7 separate regions of the Homo sapiens genome follow, and regions 1, 2, 3, 4, 6 and 7 are each linked to region 5. The links are contacts of gene promoters, found by promoter capture Hi-C in blood cells and fetal thymus (Javierre and others, 2016). All regions are on one chromosome and are shown on one strand. Each heading gives the region's core, a stretch centred on a gene start or on the middle of the fragment in contact. The rest is flanking DNA. Distances are from core to core; before and after follow the strand shown.

Evidence for each region. Contacts are between HindIII fragments. The CHiCAGO score rates a contact against its expected background, and 5 or more counts as called.
Region 1: a contact is called between a fragment that was not itself captured here and the fragment with the promoter of DEPDC4 in region 5, in 1 of 17 cell types (total CD4 T cells). The highest score is 6.7, in total CD4 T cells.
Region 2: a fragment that was not itself captured here is called in contact with the fragment with the promoter of DEPDC4 in region 5 in 1 of 17 cell types (neutrophils); the score reaches 8.2 in neutrophils.
Region 3: a contact is called between a fragment that was not itself captured here and the fragment with the promoter of DEPDC4 in region 5, in 1 of 17 cell types (total CD4 T cells). The highest score is 6.1, in total CD4 T cells.
Region 4: a contact is called between a fragment that was not itself captured here and the fragment with the promoter of DEPDC4 in region 5, in 1 of 17 cell types (total CD8 T cells). The highest score is 6.4, in total CD8 T cells.
Region 6: a contact is called between a fragment that was not itself captured here and the fragment with the promoter of DEPDC4 in region 5, in 1 of 17 cell types (activated CD4 T cells). The highest score is 6.7, in activated CD4 T cells.
Region 7: a contact is called between a fragment that was not itself captured here and the fragment with the promoter of DEPDC4 in region 5, in 1 of 17 cell types (neutrophils). The highest score is 6.6, in neutrophils.

The regions. Positions count from the first base shown.
Region 1 is chr12:98,549,045-98,551,744 of GRCh38, reverse strand. It overlaps TMPO (thymopoietin), which reads right to left. Exons shown (of 9, transcript NM_001032283.3): 9 at 1,394-2,700. Among named protein-coding and RNA genes, the nearest start is that of TMPO-AS1, 34 kb to the right of the region's middle. The HindIII fragment of the contact is 893 bases long and covers 815-1,707 here.
Region 2 is chr12:101,882,282-101,884,981 of GRCh38, reverse strand. The region is part of intron 1 of DRAM1 (DNA damage regulated autophagy modulator 1); the gene reads right to left. Among named protein-coding and RNA genes, the nearest start is that of DRAM1, 6.1 kb to the right of the region's middle. The HindIII fragment of the contact is 3,451 bases long and covers 1-2,700 here.
Region 3 is chr12:101,671,795-101,674,494 of GRCh38, reverse strand. It overlaps MYBPC1 (myosin binding protein C1), which reads right to left. Exons shown (of 32, transcript NM_002465.4): 25 at 873-1,068. Among named protein-coding and RNA genes, the nearest start is that of CHPT1, 24 kb to the left of the region's middle. The HindIII fragment of the contact is 220 bases long and covers 1,302-1,521 here.
Region 4 is chr12:101,840,843-101,843,542 of GRCh38, reverse strand. No RefSeq gene overlaps it. Among named protein-coding and RNA genes, the nearest start is that of GNPTAB, 11 kb to the right of the region's middle. The HindIII fragment of the contact is 459 bases long and covers 1,128-1,586 here.
Region 5 is chr12:100,265,629-100,268,328 of GRCh38, reverse strand. DEPDC4 (DEP domain containing 4) reads left to right here and starts at 1,250. Exons shown (of 10, transcript NM_001364818.2): 1 at 1,250-1,409. The coding sequence starts at 1,253. It overlaps SCYL2 (SCY1 like pseudokinase 2), which reads right to left and starts at 1,152. Exons shown (of 18, transcript NM_017988.6): 1 at 537-1,152. RefSeq lists enhancers at 518-577, 588-657, 1,328-1,407 and silencers at 728-807, 908-957. The HindIII fragment of the contact is 4,398 bases long and covers 303-2,700 here.
Region 6 is chr12:101,817,340-101,820,039 of GRCh38, reverse strand. All of the region lies in intron 1 of GNPTAB (N-acetylglucosamine-1-phosphate transferase subunits alpha and beta), which reads left to right. Among named protein-coding and RNA genes, the nearest start is that of GNPTAB, 12 kb to the left of the region's middle. The HindIII fragment of the contact is 1,634 bases long and covers 592-2,225 here.
Region 7 is chr12:101,780,724-101,783,423 of GRCh38, reverse strand. The region is part of intron 5 of GNPTAB (N-acetylglucosamine-1-phosphate transferase subunits alpha and beta); the gene reads left to right. Among named protein-coding and RNA genes, the nearest start is that of SYCP3, 43 kb to the right of the region's middle. The HindIII fragment of the contact is 3,177 bases long and covers 1-2,700 here.

The DNA.
Region 1 (2,700 bases), core at 12-2,511, 1.7 Mb after region 5:
CAACATGGCGAAACCCCGTCTCTACTAAAAATACAAAAATTAGCTGGGCATGGCGGCGCACCTGTAGTACCAGCTACTCGGGAAGCTGAGACAGGAGAATCACTTGAACCCTGGAGGCAGAGGTTGCAGTGAGCCAAGATGGCGCCACTGCACTCCAGCCTGGGCGACAGAGCAAGACTCTGTCAAAAAAAAAAAAAAAAAAAAAAGATTAAGAAACAGAAAAATTAGCAAAATTAAATAAGGCTTAAATTTATTATTACTGTTGTTGTTTTGAAATGGAGTCTCACTCTGTCACCCAGGCTGGAGTGTTACCTCTGCCTCCCAGGTTCGGGTCATTCTTCTGCCTCAGCCTACCGAGTAGCTGGGATTGCAGGCACCCACCACCACACCTGGCTAATTTTTGTATTTTTAGTAGAGACTAAAAATTGTCTTGCCATGTTGGCCAGGCTGCTCTTGAACTCCTGACCTCAGGTGATCTGCCTGCCTCGGCCTCCCAAAGTTCTAGAATTGTAGGTGTGAGCCACCATACCTGGCCAGAAGATTTAAATAGCCACAGAGAAAGATTAAGTGAGACCTTGTCTCAAAGAAAACAAAAACAAAAACAAGAAAAACTAGGAGTGAGCTACTTTACCCAAAAGAACGCTTCAGAGGTTTGAAACTCAGAAGGCACCACCAAAGTTGTGAAAGGAGCAGGGCTGAACACAGAACTGGTTTAAAGCATGTAAACAGAGAATTGTTTGTTTTAGGTTCCCTCTGCCATATTATATGCAACCAGAGCCATCACTTCTCAGCTGTGTGCAAACATGAAGAAGCTTCCTAACACCTCTAACCATCAGTTTCCTCATTTGTAATGATATTACGAAAATGCCTACTCCATAGGATTATCGTGAGGATTGAGTGAATCAATACATATTAAGCACATAGAAAAGTACCTAGCACATGGTAAGCATGCAATAAAACTTGTTGTTTTAAGCCTTTGATGCGATTTGCCTTATAATTAATTATGGTGTCTATACTACCTTGAGAAACACTAATTTAAGTCAAATCACCTCTGGGGACACATGAATGAGGAAGACATAATGGCACTTTCATCTTGTGAGCACAGCTCCATGACGTATCACAGTGACACGGGCTTAGTCTCAAAGCAAGACTAACAATCATAAGGGTCATAGGTAAATACTAAAGACAGTAAAAGTGGTGGGAAAAAGGAACTAGGTGTGGGAGAGGTGCCTTGGAGCGCTTAATGTCATTCTGTGAGTACAGTAGCTACACATTGCTTACCTTTGAATAAACGAGAACCCGATTACAATAAGAAGTAAAACATATGAACAGACTGAAATAAAACACAATAATCCATAAATATCACATAAGAAATGTTATCCAGAAATCACAGTTTGTGCTATCTGAAAACCATTTATTGCAACGACAAAACTAGAGGTTAATTACTTTTTATTATTGAATTATATTGTAAAGTCTACATCTACAATTTAATCAGGAAGAAATGCTTTGCATTTACATCAAGGACACATTTATTCTAATGGAATAAAACAGACACACACAAAAGACCAAGTACATGTTTTTAAAAAATGACTACATGTTTCACCTGGTCCTATTTTTGCTATTTGGACCATACTTTTAAGTGAATTGATCTTACATACATGTTAAGTCTGATTTATCTCCCCACATTTTTAAACACTAAATGAAGCTTCTCACAATTTCTAATTATAAACAAAAGGCTGAAAACAGTATGGGAAACAAAGTTTCAAAACAAAGAAAAGTTGAGTAAAAGGTGCCCCCTCTATGGCTCATCTGAAAGAAACATTTTACTCAGAGAGGCAAACATTTCTGATCTAGGAGTAAGTTTCCCACTCACTTTGCAAGGACCCACTCATTCTGCAGAAAGACCTACAAGTCTTTCTGGTCTCAATTGCAAAGTACGTGAAAATGTGTATGAAAGATCTAAAAGCTAAATATTAGAATAAGGCTAATTGAAATCAAAATTGTGTGCTGGTCTAAATATACATCTTCGGCTTCTTCCTTTTTAGTAAGTATTTTTATTTCAGATGTATTTAAAAATAACTTACATTTTTAGTGTGCTTTATGGTCAATGACTGTAAAGTTGAAACTCAAATGAGTCAGTTTAAAATTTTTGTCTCATTTGATTCTATTGAAATTTTAATCACCTACTACTTTAATCAAGTTATTCATGAGGTAAGTTTCAGCTTAAAAAAAAAAATCATCCACAAAGATAACCATTTCAAGAGTACACAAAATCATAATGCCGGCCGGGTGCAGTGGATCACACCTGTAATCCCAGCACTTTGGGAAGCTGAGGTGGGCTGATCACTTGAGGTCAGGGGTTCGAGACCAGCCTGGCCAACATGGTGAAACCCCGTCTCTGCCGAGGCAGGAAAATTGCTTGAACCTGGGAGGCAGAGGTTGCATCGAGCCCAGATCGTGCCACTGCACTACAGTCTGGGTGACAAGAGTGAGACTCCATCTCATAAAAAATAAAAAAATAAAAAATAATCATAATGCCCACCTCTTAAGAGTATACAACTTTATTAACTACTGCTTATGATGTAATATAAAAGCAAGTACTTTTTGTACTTTTTTATTTTTTTTGAGATGGAGTCTTGCTCTGTCGCCAGGCTACAGTGCAGTGACGTAATCTCTGCTCACTGCAACCTCTGCCTCCTG
Region 2 (2,700 bases), core at 5-2,504, 1.6 Mb before region 5:
AGCCTGGGCAACAAAAGTGAAACTCCATCTCAAAAAAAAAAAAAAAAACATTTTCTCTATAAAGATCAGCATCTGAAGATTTAACACACACTTGTCATAACCCAAAATTTGTGATTGTTACATAAATGCAAGTTAAAATCGTTATTTTCCTAATTTTTAGTATCATTTTTGAAGTTAAAGACCTGACCAAACTTCTTTTACTTCATTTACTCTGCAATTTTGTTCCTCCTTTTAAAGTGGCTTGATTCTAGGTGACCCAGTTTTCTGTCATCAACTACTGAGCAGAGATTATGGGGTCATGAGGTAGGACAATATGGGTGGCCAAAGGCCACAATCTATCCCACAAAACTGTATTCACATGGAAAGTGAGACGTGCTAATAAAGAGAAAAGCCAGGATCTAGAATCGGCAACACTGAAGAGTAAAGGATCACAGAATATCATGAGCAAGATATCATGGCAGGAGACACATGCCAAAAAGAAGATGGAAGACAGTGATCTATCAGCTGGAAAAAGTTAATAATTTGATAAGAAACTATAACAAGTTAAGCATGATTTGGCTTGAGAATGTGGGTGTGGCCGTGTGCAAATCTTTTTTTTTTTTTTTTTTTTTTGAGACAGGGTATCACTCTGTCACCCAAGCTGGAGTGATCACTGCAGCCTCAGACTGCAGGCTCAAGTGATCCTCCCACTCAGGCTCCTGAGTAAGTGGGACTGTAGGTGCATCCTACCACGCTCAGCTAATTTTTTGTATGTATTGTAGAGACAGGGTTGCACCATATTGCCCATGGCTGGTCTCAAACACCCGGACTCAAGTGATCAGCCCACTTCAGCCTCCCAAAGTGCTGGGATTACAGGCATAAGGCACCACACCCGAGTGCAAATCTAAACTAATTTTTTGAGATTAGCTTTTATTTGTCCTTCCTTTTGATATGCTTTTGTTAATGGTTTCAGAATAAGAAATATCACTTTATGCTATTCTAACTTGTTATATCTCACGGTGGTTGGTCCCATGTTTTTATTTTGTATTTATTTATTTTTTTTTTTTTTGAGAAAGAGTCTCGCTCTATCACCAGGCTGGAGTGCAGTGGCACAATCTCGGTCCACTGCAACCTCCACCTCCGGGTTCAAGCGATTCTTCTGCCTCAGCCTCCTGAGTAGCTGGGACTACAGGCACATGCCACCATGCCCAGCTAATTTTTGTATTTTTAGTAGAGATAGGGTTTCACAATGTTGGCCAGAATGGTTGCGATCTCTTGACCTCGTGATCCGCCTGCTTTGGCCTCCCAAAGTGCTGGGATTACAGGCGTGAGTGAGCCACTGCGCCCGGCCTCATGTTTTTAATTTAATTTTCTGATAGGAAACATTCATGCGGGGCGCAGTGGCTCACGCCTGTAATCCCAGCACTTTGGGAGGCCGAGGTGGGCGGATCATGAAGTCAGGAGATCGAGACCACCCTGGCTAACATGGTGAAACCCCGTCTCTACTAAAAATACAAAAAAATTAGCCAGGTGTGGTGGCACGTGCCTGTAATCCCAGCTATCAGGAGGCTGAGGCAGGAGAATCGCTTGAACCCGGGAGGCGGAGGTTGTGGTGAGCCGAGATCGTGCCATTGTACTCCAGCCTGGGCAACAAGAGTGAAACTCCATCTCAAAAAAAAAAAAAAAAACCTATTTGGGTAAAAAATAAAACAAAAAAGTATGCCTTATAATTATCCTTTTTCCCCATCTGCCAATGTCTCACTGACCTTGACCTACTCCTCCCTCCATCACACACAGATAAACCACTTTCATTAGTTTCTTTATGCAAGCTAATGCAAATATATATTATTTTTCTCCTCTTTTTTCTTAACTAACGAGAGCATAGGTTGTTCTGCATCTTGCTTTTTCCCATGTAACAATGTATCTTGGAGATTTTTCCATATAAGTGTATTGACGTAAAAATCTGCTAGGTACAGAGAGCTTTCACTTGAAGTATCCTTTAATAAATAAACCATATTTATTTAGGCAATTCTCTACTGATAGTCATTTGTAGTTTCCAATCTTTTGTTATTCAAAGCAATGCCCTGAGTAACTCTGCAGAAATGCCATTCTTCACATGGGCATGTACACCTATAGGATAAATTTCAAAAAAAAAAAAAAAAAAAAAGGCTGTTGCATCAAATGATGGGGGGGTGTGTGTGTATCTGTCATTTCCATAGATATTGCCCAAGTCCCACCATGGAGACTGAAATCAATTCACGTTCCTGTAAGCAATGTATGAGAGAGACTGTTTCCCCATATTCTCACCAGTACTAGTATCAAACATTTGGGTTTCTGCTAACCCACTAGATCACAACTGGCATCAGTGAGTTTTAATTTGAATATTTATTCCTATTCATAAAGTTGAGTATCTTTTCATGTGTATAAGAGCCATTTGCCAATTTATCCAATATGCTGAAGAATAACAATGTTACAAGGAGAAAGTATCTGATAAGGAAGCTGATTCTAAATGCCATACTGGGGAGAGGTCCTCCTTATGGTTGTGGCTCTTATTTAAAGTGTTCAACTGTGCTAAAAACATTAGACCATCAGGGGCCGGGCGCGGTGGCTCACGCCTGTAATCCCAGCACTTTGGGAGGCTGAGGCGGGCGGATCACAAGGTCAGGAGATCGAGACCATCCTGACTAACATGGTGAAACCCCGTCTCTACTAAAAAAATAC
Region 3 (2,700 bases), core at 162-2,661, 1.4 Mb before region 5:
TGGACAGAAGTAAGAACTAACCTTATTTATTTTTTGGGCAGGTACGTATCTAACTACTCTGGCAGGATCAAAGAATTCAGTATTTAACTGTTCAATTTTGCTTAGGTACATCTTCCTTATATTAATATTAAAAAAAATTCTTCATTCTCCATGAAAACTTCATTAGCAAATTTTAGGTGTAGTAAGAAACATGTTAAACTATAGCTAGAATCTATACTGTCTAGAATGTAAGAATTCAACATAAGAAATAATTTTATCATCAGGGAGATGAGAAACTAAGAGAAAGAGACAGCTGGGTTATAGAATAGTGCAGAAGGATTTCACTAAAAAGCACATCCATTAATTTTCTTGAACATATATGCCTTAAATCTCCTGTGATTAGTCCTTTGAGTTGGTGAGAATTCATTTTGAAATGGTAACAAATCTTACTGTCCTTTTTTTGGAGACAGAGTCTCACTCTGTCACCCAGGCTAGAGTGCAGTGGCATGATCTCAGCTCACTGCAACTTCCACCTCCCAGGTTCAAGCGATTCTCCTGCCTCAGTTTCCTGAGTAGCTGGGATTACAGGTGCACGCCACCATGCCCAGCTACTTTTTGTATTTTTAGTAGAGACGGGGCTTCACAATGTTGGCCAGGCTGGTCTTGAACTCCTGACCCCAAGTGATCCGCCTACGTTGGCCTCCCAAAGTACTGGGATTACAGGTGTAAGCTACCACGCCCAGCCTAATTTATCTATTTTTAAAAAATAAATCTAAAAAAAGAGTTTTATGTAGAGCCAGCCTAACAAAACTCCTGCTCTTGCCTTAGGGACAAGGACAATTCATCCCTGTACTGCTTTGACAGAACTTTCTGGCTCCTTCATCTAAACCTACCAATGATCTGGATGTCAATTGATGCGGTCTCCACGAATTTGTCCACTTTGACTTGCAGATCATATTTCCCAGAGTGGCTCCTCTCTGCTTTTCTAATAAATATGATTGTATCAGTCTCAGAGTTGCGAATGTTTATTTGATTCTTATCAATTTCTGCACCATCCTTCTTCCAAGTTAATTCTGGTCTTGGTTTTCCCTAAAAAGAAAGACAGCAAAAGTAGAGAGGGTAAATCATATTGTCTCAAGATGTTTCTTCAGCATTATGAGAAGGACAGTGGCTTAACCCATTCTAGGCAGGGCTGGAAAATACCACCCTTCTAGTCTGGTGGTGAGCAATTACAGCAGCAAAGCTGTAATCTGTATTTTATGTGCAAGGCACTACCTTAGGTACATAACATTGATTATTTTCCTTAATCTTCACATCAAGCTTATCATTATCCTCATTTTTTGGATAGAGAAGTTAAATAATTTGTCCAAGGTCCTGCAGTTAGGTAAGCACTGGAACCAGGTCTCCCAGCTGGGTCTCCTAGTCTCCAAAAGCCTGCACAACACAGGATAATTGTTAAGAGCATGGGCTCTGGGGCCCTGGAATCTATGTCTAGCTCCTGACCACTTAACGTCTGTGTGACCCTGGGCAAGTTACTAAGCTTTCTGTGCCTCAACGGGAATAATGGTAGTACCTATCTCAAAGAGTGGTTATAAAGATTAAAGTGCTGAGAAAGCTTCTGCCCAATACATAAGTTTTTGTAGTTAATATCATCTAAATTTTTTTTTTTGACAGAGTTTGGCTCTTGTCGCCCAGGCTGGAGTGCAGTGGCACAATCTTGGCTCACTGCAACCTCCACCTCCTGGGTTCAAGGGATTCTCCTGCTCACCCTCCCAAGTACTTGGGTTTACAGGCACGCACCACCATGCTTGGCTAATTTTTTTAGTTGTTAGTAGAAACAGGGTTTCACCAAGTTGGCCAGGCTGGTCTTGAACTCCTGACCTCATGTGATTCACACGCCTCAGCCTTCCAAAGTGCTGGGATTATGGGTGTGAGCCACCGTGCCCGGCCAATATCATCTAAATGTTAATGATTACTATTCTACTGTCCTGTGCTGCTCATTTTAGACTTGTCTAGAATTCTCTCTCTGTTCCCTCTCGCTGTTGAAACTATTCTTTAAGAGCAGAATTTAAGAAATCATAATCCCATTCATGAACCTGAGTTTCCATTTCTATTACAAAGGAATTTCCTAGAATCCCCAAGCATCCAGGCGTACCCTGGCAGACAGGAACCAAGCATGAATTCTGTCAGGTAAGGCACAGCTTTCCTGTGGGCTCTGAACATGGCTAGGTTATAATAAGAGATGTAGAGCTACACACCAAACCCCTGCTTCAGAGCCTGAAGAGTGGTTGGGGATGCTCAGACTCACACATGGGAAGCAGAGAACGACGTTGTTGAAGATAGGGAAAAACAGTTCAAGCTTATTTCCTTAAATGTACAACTTGCTGTTAGCCACTAGGGAAAAATGTGGGTTCTCTAATAATATACAGAGTGGAAAAAACCACTGAATTAAGTGACCGGGCCATGGACTCTGTTCTTGGCCCTACCATTGACTTTCTGTGTGACATTGGGCAAGTCACTTAACTTCCCTTTCAGTTTCTTCCCTTCTCAAGCAAGGTAAGGAAATCTGGCCTTCCTGCCTCACAGGGTGTTTCTGAGGATCAAATGAGAAAATGTTTGCGAACTCTAGAGATTACACAAATATACAAACATCACACTTTGGTCTCATCTCCCTTCCTGGGGGCTGAACAGTCTCTGGGATGCCAGATCTATGCGGTCCCT
Region 4 (2,700 bases), core at 108-2,607, 1.6 Mb before region 5:
ACCTGCTGGGCTTAAGCAATCCTCCCACCTCAGCCTCCCAAGTAGCTGGGACTACAGGTGTGTGCCAACATGCCTAGCTAATTAAAAAAAATTTTTTTTTTGTAGAAATGGGTCTCACTATGTTGCCCAGGCTAGTCTGGAACTCCTGAGCTCAAATGATCCTCTCTCCTTGGCCTCCCAAAATACTGGGATTACAGATGTGAGTTACTGTACCCAGCTAATGGGTCAATTTTATAGAATCTTGTTTTGTGTGTGTATATGTGTGTGTGTGTGTGTGTTTCTTTGTTTGTTTTTTGAGACAAAGTCTTGCTCTGTAGCCCAGGCTGGAGTACGGTGGCACGATCTTGGCTCACTGCAAACTCTGCCTCTTGGGTTTAAGCTATTCTCCTGCCTCAGCCTTCTGAGAAGCTGGAATTACAGGCCCACGCCACAATGCCTGGCTAATTTTTTGTATTTTTTTTTACAGAGATGGGGTTTCACCATGTTGGCCTAGGTCTCAAACTCATGACTTTGTGATCCACCCGCCTTGGCCTCCCAAAGTGCTGGGATTACAGGCATGAGCCACCGCGCCTGGCCTAATTTTATAGGATCTTAATTATAATCTCAATAAAGTTAAATAGAGAATTTTCAAGGAAATTGAGGAAGAATAATTAAAGCAATATACATGATTGCTCAGCAGACAATGAGGCTTTGACCCATGATTTTTTGTTTATTTAACCTTATTTGAGAGAAATTTATCTTAATAAAAAAGCACGTTTCTAGAGGAGAATTCTCAAAATTAATTAGTGGTGAATCTGCATATTGTGTGACACGAAAATAAATCCAACAAGAATGACTTTACTTTGAATCTAGGTTAATATGATGTAAGATGTGAAAATGGTAAAACCAGTCCTGCCTTATCTCATTTACAATTTTAATGTTGCTGCTTTAAACTAAGAATCCAAAGAATATATAGGCCTTGGAAAGGAATAGGGCTGTCCACATTGGAAGGGACTTATAATGTAGCTTTTAGAATCTTTTTGTTTTACGTGCACCTCATAGCAGAGCAATTGAGATAAACCTGCAGCTGGTTCGAACTTGATGACAGAAGAAAAGACAACAGAAAATCTTTTTCCTTTTCATAAGCTTCTCTCTATTCACACTAACCCTAATAATTATTCACCCTTCTTTTGGTATAATCTAGGGGTTCTTGCCACATTCATTTATTCGTTCCTTTAGCCTAAAATGTCAGAAGCACCAGTTATTACTCTTTCACTGTGATATTTATACTTTGGATAAATTAACTCTGAAATTTCCTTGTTGGTTGGCATCACTTGGACTTTTACTGTGCTCCTGGGATTGGTTACAGTGAGTTTAATACATCTAGAGCACTGCCAAAGCATTATAGCAAAATATCAGAGTATCCCTGACAGTATTCTGGAAAGCAGACTATGCAAAATGCAAAAGTCTCCCTATTTAATTATGAACTTGACATTGCAATGAATTAGAGAATCAGCATTTATGGATAATCAAATATATATATTGAGTGCTCACTGCTTTGGGTGTTTTGTTTGCTTGTTTGTTTGTTTCCGGTGGGGTTGGAAGCTTTGGTTTTAAGGAGATGAAAACTAAAGAAAGTTCCAAATGCTTGGAGATCAGAAAATTGATCCAGTTTTCAAACACCAGGTACAAAGATGAGGGTAGGAGTTAGCTTTTGCAAATAGGTAGATTCTGCAAAGTACATCACAGTGGACTTCATATTGATCCTGAGGTTTGTGAGAACTTAAACAGGGAAGAAATTAGGAACTAAGGGGGAGACAGGAGAGACAAGACAGACAGAAAAATACACAGAGGGAATTTTCTTTCTTTCTTTCTTTCTCTCTTTCTTTCTTTTTTTTTGAGACAAAGTCTCACTCTGTTGCCCAGGCTGGAGTGCAGTGGCCTGATCTCGGCTCACTGCAAGCTCTGCCTCCTGGGGTTCACGCCATTCTCCTGCCTCAGCCTCCCGAGTAGCTGGGACTACAGGCGCCTGCCACCACACCCGGCTAATTTTTTGTATTTTTAGTAGAGACGGGGTTTCACCATGTTAGCCAGGATGGTCTCCATCTCCTGACCTCGTGATCCGCCCACCTTGGCCTCCCAAAGTGCTGGGATTATAGGCGTGAAACACTGAGCCCAGCCTCTTTGTTTCTTTCTCTCTCTCTTTCTTTCTTTCTCTCTCTCTCGCTCTCTCTTTTTCTTTTTCTTTCTTTCTTTCTTCTTTCTTTCTTTTCTTTCTTTCTTTCTTTTTCTTTCTTTCCCCCTCTCTCTCCCTTCCTTCCTTTCTTCCTCCTTTCCTTCTTTTCTTTTCTTTTGTCTTACTCTTTTGCCCAGGATGGAGTGCAGTGGTGCTATCACAACTCATTGTAACCTCAAACTTCTCAGCTCAAGTGATCCTCCCTCCTCAGCCTCCCAAGTAGCTAGAACTACAAGTCTGTACCACCACACCTAGCTAATTTAATTTTTTTTTTTTTTGAGATGGAGTCTCACTCTTATCACCCAGGCTAGAGTACAATGGCACAATCTCGACTCACTGCAACCTCCCCCTCCCGGGTTCAAGCGATTCTCAAGCCTCAGCCTCCTGAGTAGCTCGGATTACAGGCATGCGCCACCAGGCCTGGCTAATTTTTTTATTTTTAGTAGAGACGAGGTTTCGCCATGTTGGCCAGGCTGGTCCGTCTT
Region 5 (2,700 bases), core at 1-2,500:
ACAGTGGCAGGCTGATTTGGAGCATTTTTGCTAAACTATTTATTTTTCAGAACGGAGATAGGCTACTTAGAAAACTCACTCATAGTATCCAATGTTTTTAGAAAGTGTCATCACAAATAATTCCTGAGTTTGACGTACTAAAAAATAGTTGACACCTTCCAATGAAGTCACTACAGGCATAGCGCTTTTAAGCAGCTTGTCTGGAGCCTCCTCGAGTGCCTTAGAGGGTGGATTTGATAATATGGCCTCCTTAATTACGGATCACAGGTATGTGCTCAAAGTCCAATAAGTTTTTGCAAGCTTTATCGGTCTAAACCCTCCTCCATCCGTATTCTCCCGTTTAGAAAAACAAGACTGCAGGAGTAACCGTGGGGTTTTTTCTCTTAACAAAACCCCTGCCCCACCCACCTCACACACAATAACCTTCCATTCCAGAACTAAAGCTACTGTCAGAGAAGGACGGCGGGCGGCAGGGCCCTGGCTGGTGACCCAGGCTACCGGATTCCGGACCTCAGAACTGAGGTGAACTCTCTCACCCGGTCCTAGAGTAGTGTCCAATGTCCCCGAAAGGTACTACGTTCTCCACCACCGAAACCCGAGCTCTCGAGCCGGCATGGGGGGCTCTCCCTCCGGCAGCTGACTTCGATCCCGGGTCTCCCGTCGCCTCAAGGCCTCTTTCGAGGACTCGGCCCTCTCGGATCCGCTCCCCGGAGCTCGCTGCTCGTCCAGCCCCGCTTTGCGCGGGCGCCGACCGCCGATCGCCCGGCCGGCCGCCGGCAGGCCCGTCACCAGGCAACACCCACCAGCCTGAGCGGCCCTGGGAGGCCTAACCCGGGCGCGAGTCCTCCATTCCCTCCTCGCCGGCTCCGGGAGCCCAGGCGAGAGAGCCGCCGGTGAGGGAGGTCGGTCGGTGCCGGCGGCCGGTCACTTACCTCTTCCTTCTTCCAGGAGGGGCGGTGCTGGGGCTCTTTCCCCCCGCCCCCCTAATAAACGCCTCCTGGCTGTTCCTGCTCTGCCTTCGTGCCTGGCCACTGACTCTGGCTTTACTCCATATCCTCCGCCGCCCCCGCGGCCGCAAACGTCGGAGCTAGAAGGAAAGGGGTGGGGAGGGGAGGGACCGGGGACGAAGAGTAAGGGAGGGGGAAAAAGACTAAAAGACCTGCCGGCCGGGGGCATGACGTCACTTCCTGCCGGTTCGGAAGAGGCGGAGCCAGTACTTCTCTCCGCCCCGGGTGTCAGGTGGGGCGGGGCTATGGTGCCAGGGGAGGAGCCAGCGCGCGAGCTTATGGCGGTTCTTTTGACTCCGAGGTTCCGTAGACTTGTCAGTCAGAACGAGCTTCCGGGCCCAGGGCTGAACGGGCCAAGTTCCAGGAACCGTAGAGATGGCTTCTGCCGGAAAAGGAGGACAGGTAGCCCTGTATATCCTAGCCAAATGTGCAGTGAAGGTGGAGGGGGCAGCTGAAGGGAGCAGGCGGCTGGGACTCTGCTCCTCATTGGTCCAGGGCCCCGCCCATTTCCTAGCCCCGCCCCCTTCCTGCCCTACCAGGCACTGGACTGGGGGACCCAGGACTGAGGCTTTTTAGGGGTTACTGTGGTGAAGTGCCCTTGGAGCGTGCAGGAAAGCGTTTTTTCTCAAACTTTAATATACATACGAATCCCTAGGATCTTGTGAAAGTGCAAATTCTGATTGAGGAGTAGGGTCTGATAATCTGCGTTTCTAATACATGTCCAGATGGCACCAATGCTGCTGGTCCCTAGGCTACACTTACAGCAACAAGGGGTTAATGTACTAGAGGGCAAATTCCTTGAGCTAGAGGAGTTATTTCTTTAATCTAGCCTACTTGTTTAATGAAGGTTAGAGAGGTAGACTGTCTATGGAAAACAGGCTGTACCGCTGTATTTTCCACCTACCCCGTCGAGTACCCTCCTGCCCACCTCCGCCCATCACTTTCTGGCCTCCCCTCCTCAGTCTCCGCTCTGCCCACAATGTCTGGGGATAAGATTTCTTGAGTGATTAGACGGGTAACTTCTGTTACAGAAGGAATTTGAGGGTGGTGGATTTTTATTTCTGTCATTTTATCGTAAACATATGTATAGTTGGGCATACTTTTGCGGTTATGCATAGTTGGAGAAGAGAGCTTAAGTTCTTGGATTCTACCCACTTCCCCCTGCAAATCTAGAAAAAACATTCTAGAAGTTCTAAGTTATTCCCTTATCATTCTTTAATTTTTTTAATTAATTTTAATTAAATTTAATTTTAATTAAAATTTTACTGGGGTACGGAAGAATGAAGAATGACTGCGAACTATAGGTTTCTTTGTGGAATGATGCAATGGTCTGAAATTAGATAATAGTGATGGCTGCACAACTTTGTGAATGTACTAGAAACACTGAATTGTACACTTTAAAAGGGTACATCCTCTTTCATCAGCCACCATTACAATCCTTCTTCCCCAAGGTTACTCGTTTGAAGTTTATTCTTCCAGATCTTTCTATTTATTTACATACATTTTTACATAGGTTGGGAATTCATTTTTACCTAAGTAGGATAATAATATACAAGTTGTTCTGCTCAGCTCATTTTTAAAAAATTTTTGTTTTGGGTTTTTCTTTTTCCCTACTTAATGAGATCCTTGCACACTATAAACATAGCTCTACTTCATTCTTTCTAATGGCTGGCTACTATTCTATAGTAAGGGT
Region 6 (2,700 bases), core at 159-2,658, 1.6 Mb before region 5:
CATGAAGAAAGGACAGGAGACCACCCTGTGAGCTTATGCCTCTTAATCTTTCCTTAAATACAGAACAGGAGAACTCACAGTGATTTCTTGACCTTGGTGTGCTGTGTTATGATTGCTATGAAATCAGAGGGAGCAAGTCCTTTATTTAATATAGCTTGTACTGTATACTAATATATGTAGGCTTCCTATAGTTCCTTCTAAAATATAACAGGTGTAACTATAATAGATTATATATATTCATGATATATCTTTTTAAAATTTCTGCTGTTCTTTAGATTGTTCTCATCTTGCGATACAGATGCAGAATCTTCAGCAGTTGATTAGTCAGCCTATGTGTGATTCGTATGCATACTAAATTACACAGGAAAAAGTGATCTTTCAGAAAGACCAGGTCAGGTCACACTCATTCAGGGAGTGAAACTCATTCTATGATCAGACTAAAAACCATATTGCCCACTTTAAGATTACTTCTCAAAATTGCTTCATTTTTTTAGGATTCTAGTTTTTCTTTTTCCTTTGATAAACCTTTTTCCCCCCCTTCATTTTCTCACTTCATTTCTGTCTCTCATTAATTCCCAATTAGATAAAGCTTCTAAAGCAAATTTTCAGAAGTTGTTCATGTGACAGGCTTATGGAGGTGTTCACTTTGGGCCAGTGTATTAGTCCATTTTCATACTGCTGTGAAGACATACGCGAGACTGGGTAGTTTATAAAGAAAAAGAGGTTTAGGCCAGACATGGTGGCTCATGCCTGTAATCCCAGCACTTTGGGAGGCCGGGGCAGGTGGATCACCTCAGGTCAGGAGTTCAAGACGAGCCTGGCGAACATGGTGAAACCCTGTCTCTACCAAAAATACAAAAATTTGCCAAGTGTGGTGGCGGGCACCTGTAATCCCAGATACTTGGGAGGCTGAGGCAGGAGAATTGCTTGAACCTGGGAGGTGGAGGTTGCAGTAAGCCAAGATCGTGTCATTGCACTCCAGCCTGGGCGACAAGAGCGAGACTCTGTCTCAAAAAAAAAAAAGGAAAAAGAGTTTTAATGTACTTGCAGTTCCACATGGCTGGGGATGCCTTACAATCATGGTGAAAGGGGAAAGAGGAGCAAAGGCACATCTTACATGGCAGCAGGCAAGAGAGCATGTGCAGAGGAACTGCCCTTTATAAAACCATCAGATCTTGTGAGACTTACTCACTATCACAGGAACAGCATGGGAAAAGCCTACTCCCATGATTCGGTTACCTCCCATCAGGTCCCTCCCATGACACATGGGGATTATGGGAGCTACAATTCAAAATGAGATTTGGGTGGGGACACAGGCAAACTATATTAGCCAGGTTGTCTACTGTTGACTAAAGACACAAAGGGCTGGGCACGGTGGCTCAGGCCTATAATCCCAACACTTTGGGAGTCTGAGGTGGGTGGATCACCTGAAGTCAGGAGTTTGAGACCAGCCTGGCAACATGGTGAAACCTCATCTCTACTAAAAATACAAAAATTAGTCGGGTGTGGTGTCAGGTGCCCGTAATCCCAGCTACTTGGGAGGCTGAGGCAGGAGAATCACTTGAATCTGGGAGATGGAGGTTGTGGTGAGCCGAGATCGTGCTACTGGACTCCAGCCTGGGCAACAGAGTAAGACTCTGTCTCCAAAAAAAAAAAAAAAAAAGACACAAATATATTTAAGTTGCTTTCTGCTCTGGAGGAACTCATAGTCCAGGCAGGGAGGTGGACAGGCAAGTAGGCAAACTTGAAATGTGTTGTGATGAATGCAGTGCCAAGCACACTTTCTCAGATGGTGTGATACCTGAGCTTGGTCTGGAAGGAGATGGCTGAGTAAAGGAAGGGGAGTGTTTTTGTTTGTTTTGTTTCTTAAGGAAAAGATGCCATTGGTGTAAAGGTATGGATATGAGACATTATTAACTTCTAAGAACAAAAGTAGTTCTAAAGGGCTGCAGCATCTTTGGAGTGACAGGGGAATGAAGCCGAAGAGGCAGGCAGGGGCCAGTTTAGGACTTGCCTGCTGGGTGGTACTAAGGAATGTGAATTCATCCTGAAGAAAATGGGGACCATCAAAGGATTTTAAGGAAGAGAGTGATGAAATAAAATCTGTGCTTAGAACAGTTGCTCTGGAGGTAATGTGGAAGATGAATTGCAGGTGGGGGAAAACGGGCAACAGGAGACGGGGTGAAAATCCCACATCAAGTATAATGCTTCAGAATCCACAAGCTTTTTTGATATTTTTATTTTTTGAGACAGGATCTCGCTATGTTCCCCAGACTGGTCTTGAACTCCTGGGCTCAAGTGATCCTCCCACCTCAGCCTCCCCATAGCTGGGATTGTAGGCATGTGTCACCTTGGCTAGCTATTTAAAAAATTAATTACTTTAATTTTTAATTATTATGGCTATATAATAGTTATGCACATTTATGGAGTACATGTGATATTTTTATACATGCATACAATCTGTAATGATCAGGCTGGGTGCAATGGCTCACACCTGAATCCCAGCACTTTGAGAGGCTTAGGTGGGTGGGTTGCTTGAACTCAGGTGTTCAAGACCAGCCTGGGCAACATGACAAAACCCCATCTCTACAAAAAAATACAAAACTTAGCTAGGTGTGGTAGCACGTGCCTGTAGTCCCAGCTACTCTGGAGGCTGAGGTAGGAGGATCACTGGAGCCCAGGAGATTGAGGCTACATTGA
Region 7 (2,700 bases), core at 201-2,700, 1.5 Mb before region 5:
CACACAGAACTCACGTAATCCCTCTCCCTTGGGACATTTTATTTTCCTTTCTTTGGCTGTCTCTCAGGGACTTGTCAGTGTCCCAGTTTGCTCTTCTCAGATTACTTTTAAAATGTGTCAATGGGAAGTGAACATTCTATTTTAGTGTGGTTCTGTCTTGGCAGGGAGAGCAGGACTGTCTGTTTAATGAGTGCTTATTAAGTGCCTGCTGTGTGCCAGGTACTGTTCCCTGTACTGAAGATACAGCAGGGAACAGATGGGCAAAAATCTCTACCCTTACCTTGTGTTTACATCTTGGTGGAGGGAGTCAGAGAGTCAGACGGTAAACACGATAAATAAGTAGATTACATAGTTTATAGAAGATAATGCTTTAGAAAAAAACCAAGCAGGGGCAGCAGCAGAGGAAGTGTCGGCCAGGGCAGGGGGTTGCAATTCTAATTTGGATGGTAGGGACATTGCTCACTCAGAAGGTGACTTTTGAGTGGAAATGTGAAGAAGGTGAGGTAGCCAGCAATGCGAATATCTGGGGAAAGACTGATCTGGGTAAGTAGAATAGCCATTGCAAAGGCCCTGAGGCAGGAGTGTATCTGGCATGTTTGAAGAAAAGCCAGGAGGCTAGTGTGGCTGGAATGGAGTGAACAAGACAGAGGCAGGCAGTAGATGAACCTGAAGAAGTAAGCAGGGGACCAAATAGTGTAGGCCCTAGTAACCATAACAAGGACCTGGCTTTAACTTGGAGTAGGATGAGGAATCACCAGAGGGTTTTGAGTAGAAATGTAATGTGATCTGACTTACATTCCAGGCAGTCAATCTGGCTTCTTTGGTGGAAATAGACTGAGGAGGGGCAAAAGTTGTGATAATTCAGACAAGAGGGAAGGTTGCTTAGACCAGGGAGGTGCAGTGAAGATAAGAAGTGGTTGGATTCTGGACATTTTGAAGGTCAACCCAACAGGGTTTCCTAATGACTCGGTGTTAGAGAACATCATCACCTTTTTTATTCGACGTACTTTACTTCTGTTTAAAAGCACAAAAATGTGATGGAAATTCAGTGTGGCCACAGCACATTGTTGACTCATACTGAACTCACTGTTGAGTAAAACTTATCTTTTTAAAAAAAAAACTTATATATTCTAATGCTCAAATACCTATTTTAGTGTATGCTTGTGTAGTTGGTTTTGGTACCATATATAAAGGTTTTACTTCATAGGAGATTTTATTTTGCCAGATTTGACTCATTGCTCCAAATAGTCACAAATTTGGGAAATCCATAGTCTCTTATCCAGGACAATAGCTTCTCTGCCATCTTCCTATGAATCTACACATTTCACAAGCATGCCTTCTGTAACTTCCAAAACATTGATAGAGGGTTCAGCAAGACCGGACCTATGACTAATCTCCTAAACCTCCCTCTAGGTTGATTGCGGCTTTGTTACCTACACCTCTTTGGTAGAATTGGTTAAGTTCTAGCCCACCTGAGCATCGAGCCTGTATGTCTTTGTTATATCCATGAAGATGACATGAGATGCCCTTAGCTACTTTGCTGAGATTACAAATACATATACCAGGTCTGTTAGGTAGAATTCATCATATCAATGGAAAGAGAGAGAGAAAAGTTTATCTGATAAAGTTGTAATGAATTCATACTCTTAACAGCCAGTGCTTCCTTTAAAGATAAACAGTGTATTATGAAGGCTTTCTTTTCTCAGTGCTCACCAACTATATTGTTTTTTTTCAGTTTTTGAGACCAGGCCTCACTCTGTCACCCAGGCTAGAGTGCAGTGGCATGATCATGGCTCACCACAGCCCCAACTCCGGGGCTCAGATGATCCTCCCATCTCAGCCTCCTGAGTAGCTGGGACTATAGGTGCACACCACCACACTCGGCTAGTTTTTGTGTTTTTTGTTTGTTTGTTTGTTTTTTGTAGAGACAGGGTTTTGCCATGTTGCCCAGGCTGATATAGAACTTCTGGGCTCAAGTGATACTCCTGCCTCAGCCTCCCAAAGTGCTGGGATTACAGGCATGAGCTACTGTGCCCTGTAACTATAGTACACTTGAGACTCATGCCCAGGATTGACATCTCATCTCATCAGGCTATAATTTGGAGAACCTGCCTTCTTTGTTTATCTTGAAGATCAGAATTGGAGCTTTCTGACCTCTCTTTTGTTTTCCACAATCCCTGAATGTCAGCAGTGAGTTTGTTGATCTCACTTGTCCCCATCACTAACTCTCTCCCAGTTGGGCTGTGTCACCCCCAATCCCTACTGTGACTTATGATGCTCCATTCAGCAGCACCCAATGAACTGGGGATTCATTATGAGAAAACTGTGCCTCTTAAGGAACCACAAGATCCATAGTAGCCCCCTGCTGTTAACATACATGCCACTGCCTGGTGTTCAAGGGCCCCTTTGGTTACCCTTGTTTCCTAGTACTCACCACTCCCAAATATTTTACTCTAGTCAAACAATTCTTTCTTTTTCCCCCTGTCTTTGCATATACATCTGTGATTTCTATCATCCTATCATTTCTGTCTTCGCATTCTAGCTTAAATTTGACTGCTCCCATGAAGAATTCCCTTTATGTCAATCACCTTTGGTATTGTGAAATTTAACATTTCAACGTACACTGATTTACATTGTTCCCCTTTTGTTGAATGGGCTAATTTTGTCTCCTTCAGCTTCCTTTTTTTGGACCATATATTA